4 separate regions of the Homo sapiens genome follow, and all the other regions are linked to region 4. The links are contacts of gene promoters, found by promoter capture Hi-C in human tissues and cell types (Jung and others, 2019). All regions are on one chromosome and are shown on one strand. Each heading gives the region's core, a stretch centred on a gene start or on the middle of the fragment in contact. The rest is flanking DNA. Distances are from core to core; before and after follow the strand shown. Region 1 overlaps SNAP91 (synaptosome associated protein 91). Region 2 has its middle 20 kb from the start of LINC02857. Region 3 overlaps SNAP91 (synaptosome associated protein 91). Region 4 holds the start of RIPPLY2 (ripply transcriptional repressor 2).

Region 1 (3,533 bases), core at 430-2,929, 220 kb before region 4:
GCTAGCTTTGGGATTAGTTTGTTCTTGTTTTTCTAGTTCCTTTATGTGTGATGTTAGGTTATTAATTTGAGATCTTTCTAACTTCTTGATGTAGGTGTTTAGTGCTATAAACTTTCCTCTTAAAACTGCCTTTGCTGCCTCCCAGATATTTTGGTATGTTGTGTCTGTTTTCATTTGTTTCAAAGAATGTTTTGATTTCTGCCTTAATTTTGTTGTTTACCCAATAGTCATTCAGGAACAAGTTGTTCAGTTTCCATGTAATTGTGTGGTTTTCAGAGTTCCTCTTGGTATTGATTTCTATTTTTATTCTACTGTGGTCTAAGAATATACTTGTTATGATTTGATTTTTTTGATTTATTGAGATTTGCTTTATGGCTGAGCATGTGGTGGATCTTAGAGTATGTACCCTGTAGAGGTGACAAGAACATACATTCTGCGGTTGTTGGGTGGAGTAGTCTGTAGATGTCTATTAGGTCCAATTGGTCTAGTGTCAAATTTAAGTTCATAATTTCTTTGTTAGTTTTCTGCCTCAATGATCTGTCTAATGCTTTCAGTGGGGTGATGAACTCCCTCATTATTGTTGTGTGGCTGTCTGTCTTTTATTAGGTCAAGAAGTACTTCTCTTATAAATCTAGGTGCTCCAATGTTGGGTGTGTATATATTTAGGATAGTTAAGTCTTTTTCCCCCCTAATCTCTCATCTCTGGCTGAAAATTAAGTCTTCTTGTTGAATTGAACCATTTATCATTATGTAATGTCCTTCTTTGTACTTTTTCTTTTTTTACTGTTGTTGGTTTTCAGTTTATTTTATCTGATACAAGAGCAACAACCTCTGTCCTTTTTTGTTTTCTATTGGGATGGTGGATCTTTTTTCATCCCTTTACTTTGAGGCTATGCGTGTCATTACATGAGATGGATGTACTGAAGACAGTACATCTTTTTTTTTAATCCAACTTGCCACTCTGTGTCTTTTCAGTCAGGTGTTTGTACCATTTACATCAAGGTTAGTATTCATATGTGAGGTTTCATTCCTGTCATCATATTGTTAGTTGGTTGCTTTATAGTCTCAGCTGTGAAGTTGCTTTGTAGGAATTATGGACTATGTACTTATATGTGTTTCTGTGGTAGCAGGTTTCTTTTGTTTCCAAGTTTAGAACTCCCTTAAGCACGTCTTTTAAGGCCAGTTGATTGGTAACACATTCCCTTAGCAATTGCTTGTCTGGGAAAGATTTTATTTCACTTTCACTTATGAAGCTTAGTTTGGTAGGTTATGAAATTCTTAGTTGGAAATTCTTCTCTTTAAGAATACTAAAAATAGGCTACAAATCTCTAGCTTGTAAAGTTTCTTTTGAGAAGTCTGTCGTTAGCCTGATGAGGTTCCTTTTATAGGTGATTTGTTCCTTTTCTCTAGCTGCCATTAAGATTTTTTCTTGTGTTGATCTTGGAAAGCTTGATGACTCTGTGCCTTGGGATGGTCATCTTGTATAGTATCTTGTAGGGGTTCTCTGAATTTCTTGTATTCACATGTCAATCTCTCCAGCAAGACTGGGTAAATTTTTGTGGATTATATCCTCAAATATGTTCTCCAAGTTGCTCACTCTCTCTTCTCTCTCAGAAATGCCAATGAATTGTAGGTTTGGTTGCTTTACTTAACACCATATTTCTTGGAGGTTTTGTTCATTTTGTAAAATTCCTTTTTTCTTTATTTTTGTCTGTCTGGGTTGATTCAAAGGACTCGTCTTCAAGCTCTGAAATTCTCTCCTCTGTGTGATCTAGTCTGTCATTAAGGCTTCCAACTACATTTTCAAATTCCTGTAGTGAACTTTTCAATTGTAGAAGTTCAGTTTAGTTCTTTTTAAATATAGCTATCTCATCTTTCATATCTTGGATCATTTTCCTGGCTTCCTTGTATTGGATTTCAAATTTCTCTTGGATCTTATTGAGCTTCCTTGCCATCCAGATTCTGAATTCTGTGTCTATAATTTCAGACATTTCAATGTGGTTAGGATTCATTGCTAGGGAGCTAATGCCATCCTTTAGAGGTAAACAAAACATTCTGACTTTTTGCATTGCCTAAGTTCTTGAGCTGATTCCTTCTCGTCTGAGGGAGCTGGCTTTTCTTTTTCTTTGTCAATTTGCTTTCATTTGGATAGGGCTTTTTGTTTTTACATTCTTTTTTCCCGTAAGGGTTGACTGTGGTGAATGTTGTATATAGTTGATCGGTTTCGTTTCTGAGCGCTTTCAGAGGGTCAAGGCTCTGTTCTAGGTTCTGAGGTTATAGATGGGCTCCTGTGGTGCATTTCAGAGGTGTTGCACGGTGAAACAATGTATTTTTGTTTGGTGGTGCCATTCAGGTTGCAGTCTCGTAGACAGCTCTTCACAGTGACATCAGGGCCAGCAGATATACTCTTACTCAGCCAGACACCTCTTATTTTTCAGTGCGTATGTGGCAGTGCTCTGGGGAGGGGAGGCAGGGGCCAAGAGATAAGTCTCAGTCCAAGTTTGTTTCCAGGCCTTGGGCCTTGGTGCTGTCCCCTTCAAGTACTGGTGCTGCACCCATGTTTTCTTTGCTCAAAAGGGGGCTTTGGCAGGCTGTGCTACCCTCTCCCTTTAGGGATGGTCCCAGCTGAGAGATCATCAGGAGATCTCTAACTCTTGGGGGGCCCACTGTGCTTGTGAGAGTCAGAGCAGGTTGTGGGATATGACTACTAGCGGTCTGGTGTTGCAGTGGGTTGGGGTGAAGAATCCCTGGGCAGGGCAATGGTATCATGTATACGCAAGTGGAAAAGTGCCTGTGGCCCAGGGTTTCCAGCCTGGCAGACAGCTGTGGGGCCCACTCAGCTTGTGCTCCTCTGACCCAACAGGTCTTCCTCCAGTGTCTGCCCCAGGAGCATTTTGACTGGCTAGACTTGTTCCAAGCCTTCTGCTCTCAGATCACTGAGCTGTTCCAGATGATGTGGGCTGCAGGGCTCCCTGGGAAAGAAGATGTGGCTTTCAGGCGGCACCCTTCTCAGATGGGTCTTGTGAAGGGAGGGACACCCAGCTCCTACATTTGTACAAGAACCTGCACCAGCATAAGAACCTAAGTCACAATCTTCTTTTTGTTCTGACACTGGGAGCTCTTCCTCCACTTGAGCTCAGGCCATAGATCTCAGCACGATACTCGTGGGCAGTGTGCTTGAGTCCCAGGGAGTTGAAACCAGGCCTGCAGATTTGTCTTCTGGCCCCTCGGGGTTAAGCACTGGCTGTGCTGGGGGTGCCAGACTGCTTCCAGGCCACCAGCAAAACACTCAGGTAGGGAAGCGCGGGGGCTGCGCTGTGGATATCCTCCTGTGGGAGTGGCCAGGCAGGAAATCTTGGGAGGGGCCAGCAGGTGAGGGGGCATTCATCCTGGTCCTGCAGCAATGGTCCTGGCCAGTAGAGAACAGGAACTGCAGAGCAAGATGGAGCGCCTTGGGGGATGGGCACCTATGGTCATGTTTTACTGCAGCTGGCATGTGGTGGCTCCGAGCAGGTTTCCCGGCTTCCTCCCTC
Region 2 (3,368 bases), core at 656-3,155, 150 kb after region 4:
GCCTTTTTGTGACCTCTGATCACTTAGTCTGATTTAGGGCCCTGTAGGCACCCTGAAGCTAAGGACTTTGCTTGCTTAACTTGTGTTTCATACTGGGTATTTCTGAGTCATTTCTGATGAGCAGAGGGCTTGAGGGAAGCATGAACAAAAGAAGTGAGAGCTGGTTGGGCATATAAGCACTTGGTCCTGATGGAGGCTTTGTGGCACCTGACTTGCCAGCTGCTTCAGTGCCTGTCCTCACAGTTCAGGATTCACCTAATGTGCTGAGATAAAGCAGCAAACAGATCCTGAGAGTAGAGTCAGGCTACACAGGCATTATATGCATGGGCTTTTGCATGACTTTTGATGGGTCAAAGATAAATGCTCAAGCTTGTGAGCATCCAAGAGACAGGTCTGGAAGGATATACCAGTGTGTCAGAACTGGAAAGTGTTGCGATCTGGAAGAGAAGCACAACTCCAGCAGAGAATGGCAGGGAGCTTTTCTGTTAGTCCTGTGGAATTCAACCATGAACTGAGAAATCATCTCACTGGGACACACTTGCAGTCATCCATTTAAAGTTAAGAGCCATAACAGAACAGGATTTAGGGTATAAGTAAATAAAAAATGTGCCACCAATCTGGGGAAATATCTTGCTAAATAATTGCCATCTTCCCTATGTGTATTAGTGCCCGTGATCAATAGACCTGGGTGTAGATCATTTTATCCATCTCTTTTGGAACAGATTCACCTTATTCTTAAAAGCCAACTCAGACACTCAGTCTCATTTTTCATAGTGTTCCAGTTCAAAACTTGACAGTTCTTGAAACTCTTCAAAAATAATTCAGGAAATTATTTCTGTAGCTTTTTAAATATATGAGGTGGATAATATAAAAATTTGAAATTTACCTTGGATAAGCAGCATCACTTAGACGGTGAGGGTGAAGAATAAAAATCTGGGACGCACTAAAGTCTACTCTTTTCTCCACTTCACATTTATTGGGAATATTCTGGAAAGTGGCTTTTGCCCGTGGTTCCTAAATGTCTTCCCCCTGTGAGCTATACCAGTCATCAGGTGTGTTATGTCCATACAGCTTTCCTAAGAAATGGAAATTAAAGTGTCTTTCCAACTCCACAGGCACCATAGCTGCTGAATAATAAAGAGGATAAATGGCTCACATTTAGGAACTACTTACTGTAGGTACAACTGGGAATTTTCAGGATGCAGGTCTTTTTACAAAAGTTCTAGCAGCTGCATTTTACTAAATGAAGGGTTTGTTGCTGTTGTTGTTGTTGTTGTTAATGGCCACACTGGTGTATACCAATAAACAGAAAATCTCATTAGCATCCTTTCTCTTTCCCACACACCCTCTCTATATGGCTTAGAGGCAAAGTGGGGATTAATTTGTTTTGTATCATGGGAAGGGAGGTATTCAGAAAATTAAATCATGGATAAACTTGAAACAGACACAGTCAGAAGTAACCTTATCATTAAGTGACATTTATTATGTTCCCATATCACACAATTCTACTAATTTACAGAGCTCATGCCAGCTTATAAATTTTATGCATTTTTTCCTCCCAATCTTTCGTCTATTTCTGTTTCCCTACATATTAGTTAGGAATGTTTTTAGCTTTAAGTAACAAAGCCCAACTAAAAGTAGCTTAAGTCATAAGGATATTTATTATTTATTTAATGAGCAGTCTAGAGTGGTATAGATGGCATCATGGTTGTTTGGTACCTCCAAGATGCCAATCATAGATCTTTATTCCTTTGCTTCACCATTCTCAGTGTTGGCCTATTGTCCCCTTGGTTGTCATTGTATGTTCACAAGATAGCACAATTCCCGCATCACATCCTTACATCATTTTCAATGCCAGGAAGCAGAAATATAAGGGGCAGGTGCAAAAAAAAAAAAGTGATTTGGCACTGACTAGTTATAAGAAGAGCACTAACTCCTCAGGGTAGTATAACTTGGCAAATGTTAAAACAATGAACAGTAATAATATTGTACACTTTGTGTCAAGCATTGTGCTTTACAATTATTATCTTTTTAATCTTCACAACAGTGCTATGAGAGTAATACTATGAAAATCTTCTTTTTTTTTTTTGAGACGGAGTCTTGCTCTCTTGCCAGGCTGGAGTGCAGAAGCATGATCTCAGTTCACTGCAACCTCCACCTCCCGGATCCAAGCAATTCACCTGCCTCAGCTGAAAATCCTCATTTTATAGCTATTAAAAGATGATGTAGCAATATTAAAAATGATTTTTACAAAAAAAAATTGACATTTTAGCCTACCATTCTATACAAAATGTTTTAATTTTGTCCTGAATATGGACATGTGTGACTCAGATCTACCTTCAGGGAAGGACCTGTTGCCTTAGCTCCTAAGAGTGTTGTTATGAGACACCTTTCAGCTGGCAGCCCCTCGGGGGAGAGAACTGACTCTCCCAGGCTCGCCTTCTCCCTCGGTGGCCAACATCCAATCACTGATTGGGGGTATACAGACCAGGTATTCTGGCCCAATGTGGGACAACTCTAAATGGGCCAGTTCATCTAGACTCCCCCCTCTGCCCATTCCTGATTCCTCTTTCTTCTTTCTACAGGTCTTGATCCTAAGGGTATTTCCTGATAAACATCCTGAATCCAACTCTGTCTTAGAATCTGCCTCCTAGAAAAAAATCAAACTGTGACAACTTTTAAGATCCCTTCCACCTCCTGTCTACATGCATTTTTATTTTACATTATTGCAGACATACTGAAGTACTACTTTTGTTATAATTTTTAATCTTAACGTTCTATCATGATCAACTCCTCATGTTGATAAATAGCCTTCATAGTTACCTTTTTAAAATTTAAAACTAAAGTAATTTAATCATATTACAGAATGTTTGAAAAAAAAATTACTCATAATCCCACTACCAAACATAGTTGATCATTTTGACATATTTCCTGTTATTTTTTCCCAATGAATAGTTTTGATAAGGTTATAATCACAACTTATAAGCAGCGCCCTTTTCCACATTATTTTAAAATTCTTTATTTATTTACTTTTATGATCTCACTCCAGAAAGGATTAAAAGCAGCCTATAAAATTACATAAATTCAGTAAAAGGGAAGCTAGGCATCAGCAGGGGTCTTCTATTCCTCGGGGATTTATGTAAACATACATCAAATACTTGAACATGTGGCAAATGAGAATCCAGAGCCCTTCTAAGATTTTGAGAATATCTGACTTCTTCATGTGTTTTTCTTAACTCCTTTGTCTGCCTAACAGTGAAAACTGGCTACCCAAGTCTTGCCCATATCAATCCAGGTGATAAGCACAGTACTTTTACTAGTTGCCACACATTCACACACTCAAAACCTACGAAATACACTAAAGAAAA
Region 3 (3,700 bases), core at 1,180-3,679, 250 kb before region 4:
GAACTACCTACATTGAAAGGACTAAAACATTACTTGTGTATCAATAAGAATATTTCTGTTAAAAATCACAAAAATTTACTATTTTTAAAATGTGTAATTTAAATATAGTACTAAAATACATTAACAGTTTTAATATTTGATAGGGATGAAATTAAATAGCCATCCTTCTGAAATTAAAATCCATTAAGCTTTATTTCTAAAGAAATCTACTTAGTTGCTGTACATATTGCATAGGACCTCAAAAAGGCATGTTTTAAAGTTGTAAAGTTATGCTGTGTTAAACAAAACATAACTGGTTTTCTGATTATTCTAGAGTTCTACCACTTACCCATTGTAGAGAGACAAAATATTTAAAAAATGGCCACACAAAATGGCCAAAGAGATTTTAGCTTAGGTTTTTATTAAAAATTAAATCTCTGAATAATTTCTTAAAAACCAATGAAGGCATGAAAGAAATTACAGAAAATCACTGAAAATCACAAAACAGATAATGACATATATAGACTCCTGAACATAAAGGATGGAAATTGTATAGCTATCAGAAGCCAGGAGACAATTTATAGAACTAAACAGATCAATAAAATAATTATGATGTGATTTTCAGATGTAATTGTCATTGTACACTCATTTCTCAGCCAGATGACTGGAAAGGATATTGATAAAATCACAAGAACAGTCTCATTCTTTGACATTAAGTTGCATGATTCTCTGCAGTACTCATCCTTTAAGCTTATATTTAAAGCTACAAAGAATGCCATCATGAAAATTTTCTAAACATACAGATTTTTCCACTTGATGAATATAGTCAAAACAGAAATAAATGACAAACAAAAACAGCATAATGGCATGAAGAATATTTCAAAGAAATATCTTAGTCTTTATTATTCTAGAGGGCTATGCAGGAAGTAAGATAGAGTTGATTGATTTCTTTGAGGTAATCAACTCCTTATAAGTGGACTGGAAACAAAAAATCTAAACAGCTAAGGCGTAGAAATGTTTCAGCACAAAATTATTATGCATCCTGTCCATATTTTCCTTACTTTTTTTCTGTTAACACAAGCCTATGAGAAACTACCCATAGCTACATCAATAACAGAGGGTGGGGGAAGGATAGATTTTAAATTAAAACATTTACTAAGTGTATTACCTATTATTATTATGGAACTTTCAAGCTAGAAGGACTTTAGAGATCTTCTAGACCAAGTTTCCAATTGTATAGATGGGAGAACTGAGGCCAAAGGAGGTCAAGAGGCTTACCTTTAGTCAGGCCTAAACAACTTTGACAAACTCTATTTACCACCTGATTTAGATTTGTGGAAGGAAGAGGAAGTTGATTTTATAAATGTAAGCTAAAATTTAAATTTTTGGTTTCAAAGGATATAGGGGCATAAATGAAAACCTAACCCTCTATAGTGGGTGGCTCTTTTTAATTTAATTTTATTTTTGAGACAGGGCCTTGCTCTTCACCTAGGCTAAAGTGCAGTGGCGTGATCAGGCTCACTGTAACCTCCACTTCCTGGGCTCAAGCAATCCTCCTGCCTCAGCCTCCCAAGTAGCTTGGACTACAGGTGCTTGCCACCACAACTGGCTAGCTTTTAATTATTTTGCAGAGACAAGGTCTCACTATATTGCCCAGGCTGGTCTCAAACTCCTGAGCTCAAGCAATTCTCCATCTTGGCCTCCCAAAGTACTAGTATTACAGATGTGAGCCACTGCGCCAGACCATGGGTGACTCTTTATTCAAGGGTCTGCAATCCTTTTTCTCCTACTCTTTTACAAACAGGTTTCTCCTGTTCCATAGGAATGGACAGCAAGGCAGCAGAAAATGTCTTTTGTGCAGCAGTGGCAACAAAGCTGTGTCTAGTGGAGTGCTCCTTGTCTTGGATGATGTTGGCCAACCTTAGAGACTGGAGCATGGCATGTAGCAGAGTGGTAGGTGACAGTGTGTTAAATGTATGTTCCCAGGGGTACATATTGATTACACCAAAGCCTGCCAAATCTCTCTTGCTTTCACCATTTTCTTCCTCCAATTTCTTTACCATATTCTCAAAATGCCCTAGGAAAGATGTTATATGGTAATGAAGATACACAAAACTATAATGACTATAACATCACTTGACGTATGTGTTTGATATGAGAACTTCTTTAGGTGTGGACATTGGTACCACACAGATGGGGATACATATATGAATAAACTGGCTTCACATGGCTCATCAGGTCCAGGCATATTATAGTGGGTCAGAATTTACATTTCCATGGAAAGCATATTTTTAGACAATCATTTCAAAGACTGACTTAAATCTGTTTTCAATCAGCCTTTCAAGTGCTGCTTCAGATGTTTTCTCAGAGTTCCAAAACCAAAGATGATCCAAGTTTTTATTTGGACAGAACAAACTTAAAGCTGTAAAAACAGGCACATCCCTTAACTCTCTTCAAAGGCTTCCAAACCTGAATTACTCTTAGATTATTTTTTGCCCTAAACATTAAGAAACAACTTAGGCCTGTGTTGCTCCTCCTACATTCCCCAAATATTCTCTGGGCTAGTTCTAATCTGGCCGAAAAGCTAAATAAACCTAAAGGTGACAGAGAGCTCTGGTACCACTTTTATACAGACACTGGAGAGCAGGAACCTAAAGGCAGGAGTTCTGAAGGTAGCAACATGAATTCTAATGTTAAAAAACGTGAAAATCAAATGGGCCTGATGCATTGCAATCTCTGCTATAAAATTACTAAAATTAAGTGAAGAGAAAGTTGATGAATTTAGTGAAGATAAATATACATGAATAAACATTGAAAAAGTACTTAAACACTCTGACATGCTGTTACATAACGGAAAAAATTTTAAAGACCTTAACTCCCAAGTAATTTTAGCAATCCTGAAAAAATGAAAGTAGCAGCGAGACTAACTAACCTCCAAAGAGATCCACTTCAGCAGTGACAGCAGTAACAGTTGTAGTAGTGGAGGCAGAAGCTGAGGCAGTTGCAATTTCAGCAGTTGTAGTAGGAGGGGTAGGTTCTGGTGCAAATGGATCTGAAATCTGTGCTTCAGAGGGAACAGAGGAAAGTGCAGCCAAAGAATCTATATTTCACCAGAGACAGAGAGCAAACGGAGAGAAGAAAAGCAAAGGACAAAAGATATACCAGACTCCAAATGATCAAAATAAGGACAGTTGTTACATACAGAAGTCTGTCAAAATGGAAGTTTAAAAACAAAGCTTTACTCACCCTCTCCCAAAAGGTCTACCGATGTCCATTACATGGCAGCATAAGAATAAATAAGAGCTAAAGTTGAAACATGCAACCATACCAATGTCCAAGCCAGATAAGGCACTAACTAAAAAAACCTTAGCTTTATGTGTCTTCTACACCATTTGCAATTAAAAAATAAATGTACTACCTATTATCATGGAACTTTTAAGCTAGAAGGGACCTAGAGATCCTCTAGACCAAGTTTCACCTTTAGACATGTACTTCAGATTTTATTAACAAGCAAATGGGTCACAAAACTACTTGTGCTGTAGCTAACCTTATACATGAAGATATCAGAGTCATATGATCACATAATATTGATTAGCTTTCAAATACATGTTGGTAGATAATTTTAATTCTAATAAATTCTGGCAGTAATCCCATGTTTCTCAAAAAAAGTAGAAATTTCACTTTAAGCATGTATAAAAAGAAACTGTTTTCCCATGTCTAA
Region 4 (3,700 bases), core at 1,084-3,583:
CCCAGACAATACCATTCTTTGATTAATCCTTCCAAAAATATCAACTTAGATTTGATTTACTCTAAGAAGGCTTTCCTGGTTATCCCAAACAGACTTCTTAAGTTCCTCCCACCTATCTGCCTAAAATGCGCTTTTACTATTGAATGTGTCACTTTAAATTTTTTTTTTTTTTTTTTTTTTTGCTTATGTGTTTATTGTAGTGGTCAGAGTTTGGAATAATTGTAACCTTCTCAAGGATAGGAGGAATACCTTACTGTCCTTATCTGGAAAGCACAGTAGTTAGCACATTACAGCCACCTCAAAAAGATTTTTTTTTATTTTTTATTTTCATTTTAAGTTCTGTGGTACATGTGCAGGATGTGCAGGTTTGTTACATAGGTAAACATGTGCCATGGTGGTTTGCTGCACCTATCAACCTATCACCTAGGTATTAAGCCTAGCATGCATTAGCTATTTTTCCTAATCCTCTCTCTCCTCCCACCCCACCCACTGACATGCCCAGTGTGTGTTTTTCCCCTCCCTGTGTCCAGATGTTCTCATTATTCAGCTCCCACTTATAAGTGAGAACATGCAGTGTTTGGTTTTATGTTCCTGCGTTAGTTTGCTGAGGATAACGGCTTCCAGCTCCATCCACGTCCTTGGAAAGGACATGATCTTGTTCCTTTTTATGGCTGCATAGTATTTCGTGTTGTGTATGTACCACATTTTCTTTATCCAGTCTATTACTGATGGGCATTTGAGTTGAATCCATATCTTTGCTATCGCAAATAGTGCTGCAATGAACATACGCATACAAACATTATGCATGCCATCTTTGTAAAATAACGATTGATATTCCTTTGCATATATCCCTAGTAATGGGATTGCTAGGTCAAATGGTACTTCTGGTTCTAGGTCTTTGAGGAATCACCACACCATCTTCCACAATGATTTAACTAGTTTACATTATGGAACTGAAATAATAAGCCATTTTATCAGAAAGGTTAACATCTGTTAAGGCCTTATATTTTTTTACGTAGCTTAAAATCTGTTGAAGGCTTACTATATGCCAGGCACTGCAAAACGCATTTTATAAGCTTTATTTTATTTAGCCTAACAATAACTGTAGGGGATGCAGACATGCATTAGGTATCTATCCTTACTGATTTTCTTATCAGAAGCAACCCAAATCTCACCTTCCTGGCAGGTAGATCATTATAGGCTCTTAGCTACTATTAATAATTAAATTATTTTCCTATGCAGTAGCTGAATGAATAGCAGAGACAACTATAGTTTACAATCAAGATTTTTGTCTAAACTTTTAAGAGAAAGTCCAGTTTTATTATTTAAAACATTTTGAAAAAAATTATAACATTTATATATCATCTTTTCCTCGATGCATAACACTTTTTACAAAGTTTAGTGGTAGATAAGTGAGGGGTAACTCAAATCAGAGAAACAGGGGTGCAGACGTTTGATTAACTTGTCTCATATCATAACTTTTCAAGATTTCATTATCATTCCACAACACTGCCCTCAAAAAAGAATTTTGTAATTACCATTGAGTGACAAAATACCAAGTAGTGACAGAGGTGTATAGACGAACTCAAAAGTTATTGTAGGAGGACACTGATAAAATGTTGGGGAAAATCACAAAAGACACGAGAAGATAATTTAGAGCTCTATGCCCAAATCACATGACTCCAGTCTCTGGCTCTCTTAGCCAGAACAGCGAATCTTTTACAATTTACCTCTTGTTGCCAATAATTTTCTATTATCTTCAAATAATAATAGGCTGGAGTATGAACCTAGTTTATCAATACTTTTTTAAAAAACCGACATTCCTCTCTTAAGGAGTCCATGCATTCTCCCCATTTTTTAGAAAATTGTTCCATGAAGAGGAATTAAGTTTATTCCTTTGAATTCTAGTCTGCATCCCAGCTTTTAGAACACGGGATGCAGAACCAGTTGATTTGCCACAGGCCAAGTCCTGAGTCTCCAGCGAATCAAGCAATTAACCAGTCACTTGGCCTTTTTGCAGAAATCCACAAAACGTGTAGACTCGCTTAATTCCATCTCCTCCTGGCCTCTTCACACGGAAATTGGCTGCTCGGGCGAATGTTGTTTTTCTCCGCAGCCATGTGTCGAAGGGCGATTAACATTCGCTCGACAAAACCCTGTCCCGGGCCATTTGGGAGTTGCACGCGTTCACACCCGGGGCTCAGCCCGGTGCGCCTTCACGCGCAGCCTTTTTGTTTATGCGGCTAGCAGGGAGAGGGGCGGAGAGGCAGCGAACCTCTCAATGTGCAGCAGGCCGCGAGGGCTATATAAAGCTCGGGTCTCGGACCTACTGGAACTGGTCAAGATTGCCCGCGAGCTGGCAGCGGCCTTCCGCCCAGCTCTGCGGCGTCATGGAGAACGCGGGAGGCGCAGAGGGTACAGAGAGTGGAGCTGCGGCGTGCGCGGCCACCGACGGCCCTACGCGGCGCGCGGGCGCGGACTCCGGGTAGGCTTCCCCGCGCTGCTCTGCGCCTCCCAGCTTCCCCCGTCTCTCCCTCCTGCGCCTCCCCAGCTCCTCCCCTCCAACTCTCCATCCCCCACTGCCCGGTGCCAGCGCTCGGCTTCGGTGGATTCTCCCGGGTCTGGGCTCACGTCTCCTCTGCGCGCCTTGTGCTCCCCTATCCCGCAGATACGCAGGCTTCTGGAGACCCTGGGTGGACGCCGGAGGCAAGAAAGAAGAGGAGACGCCGAACCACGCCGCGGAGGCGGTGAGTGAGCCACGCGTCTCAGGCCGCGCCTCCCACGGGTGCAGAAGATCGACCAGGGCTCTCGGGACGCAGGGCCTGAGAGAGACATGCGAGACACCGGGTCCTGCCTCTCGCTTAACATCCCGCCTGCCGGTGGCCATAAAGGTGCCGACGCGGCGGATGTGTCCTCTGGAGCGATGGGCCACAGGCACCCAGCCGGGAGCGAGGCTGCTGAGAGCCCTGGGGTTACATTCCCAGCGGGCACGAGGAACACTGGGTCGTGCACGTTTCCACTTTCTAGAAGGAGGTGGGTGATAACTGGATTCACTTCCTTTCCTCTCCAGATGCCCGATGGCCCTGGAATGACCGCAGCCTCAGGAAAGCTTTACCAATTCAGGCACCCAGTCAGGTGAGTGACAGGCCTCGCCGAAGGTCTCCCGCTCCTCCAGCCCCAGGGAGGAGCCAGGGGCATCGCGCAGCCCAGCTCCGCAGCTGGTCCTGCAGTCTCTCTCTCTCTCTCTGAAAATCTGGCTTCAAGGTTACTTATCTTCTCACTCATCAAATTGAAAAAGGTAGGGGCTCACGGTCCCACGTAAAGGGACTGTTGATGAATACATACTCAGTGAACTTGATGAATATATTACGAAGAGGGAAAGGGGATGATATGGTAAGAGAGCGGTGACATCTTGTGCTGGCAAAACAGTTTTTATTTTTAAATCCTAAAGGGTTCGAATGAAATTGACTTCGCATCAGGCAGAGTGTGTATGCTGCTTTTGTCTTGCAATCTGGAAGGAAGAATGGGATTAACAGTTACAGTCTTACAAGTTTGCCGAGTAGGAAAAAATAGAAATGTAATGAAAATCCTAAAGATTATTGAGAATGGTTATAGAAAGGGTCAAAAGTTTATTTAACTTGCGGAGCTAGTTTACTGTTCCTAGTCACAGGAAGTCAGCCTTTATCTAAGATTCTGTGTC

The links. The method cuts DNA at HindIII sites, captures the fragments that hold promoters and counts their contacts. A contact is called where the count stands out against the background at its distance.
Region 1: a contact is called between a fragment that was not itself captured here and the fragment with the promoter of RIPPLY2 in region 4, in 2 of the 25 tissues and cell types used here (H1 embryonic stem cells and mesendoderm cells).
Region 2: a contact is called between a fragment that was not itself captured here and the fragment with the promoter of RIPPLY2 in region 4, in 2 of the 25 tissues and cell types used here (liver and spleen).
Region 3: a contact is called between a fragment that was not itself captured here and the fragment with the promoter of RIPPLY2 in region 4, in 1 of the 25 tissues and cell types used here (hippocampus).

Annotation. Positions count from the first base shown.
Region 1 is chr6:83,634,678-83,638,210 of GRCh38, forward strand. All of the region lies in intron 8 of SNAP91 (synaptosome associated protein 91), which reads right to left. Among named protein-coding and RNA genes, the nearest start is that of SNAP91, 73 kb to the right of the region's middle. The HindIII fragment of the contact is 4,674 bases long and covers 1-3,533 here.
Region 2 is chr6:83,998,939-84,002,306 of GRCh38, forward strand. No RefSeq gene overlaps it. Among named protein-coding and RNA genes, the nearest start is that of LINC02857, 20 kb to the right of the region's middle. RefSeq lists a silencer at 1-99. The HindIII fragment of the contact is 7,057 bases long and covers 1-3,368 here.
Region 3 is chr6:83,598,360-83,602,059 of GRCh38, forward strand. It overlaps SNAP91 (synaptosome associated protein 91), which reads right to left. Exons shown (of 30, transcript NM_001242792.2): 15 at 3,226-3,240; 16 at 2,912-3,079. Among named protein-coding and RNA genes, the nearest start is that of PRSS35, 88 kb to the left of the region's middle. The HindIII fragment of the contact is 6,416 bases long and covers 1-3,700 here.
Region 4 is chr6:83,851,027-83,854,726 of GRCh38, forward strand. RIPPLY2 (ripply transcriptional repressor 2) reads left to right here and starts at 2,334. Exons shown (of 4, transcript NM_001009994.3): 1 at 2,334-2,485; 2 at 2,669-2,747; 3 at 3,071-3,135. The coding sequence starts at 2,391. It overlaps RIPPLY2-CYB5R4 (RIPPLY2-CYB5R4 readthrough), which reads left to right and starts at 2,334. Exons shown (of 18, transcript NR_174604.1): 1 at 2,334-2,485; 2 at 2,669-2,747; 3 at 3,071-3,135. The HindIII fragment of the contact is 6,654 bases long and covers 1-3,700 here.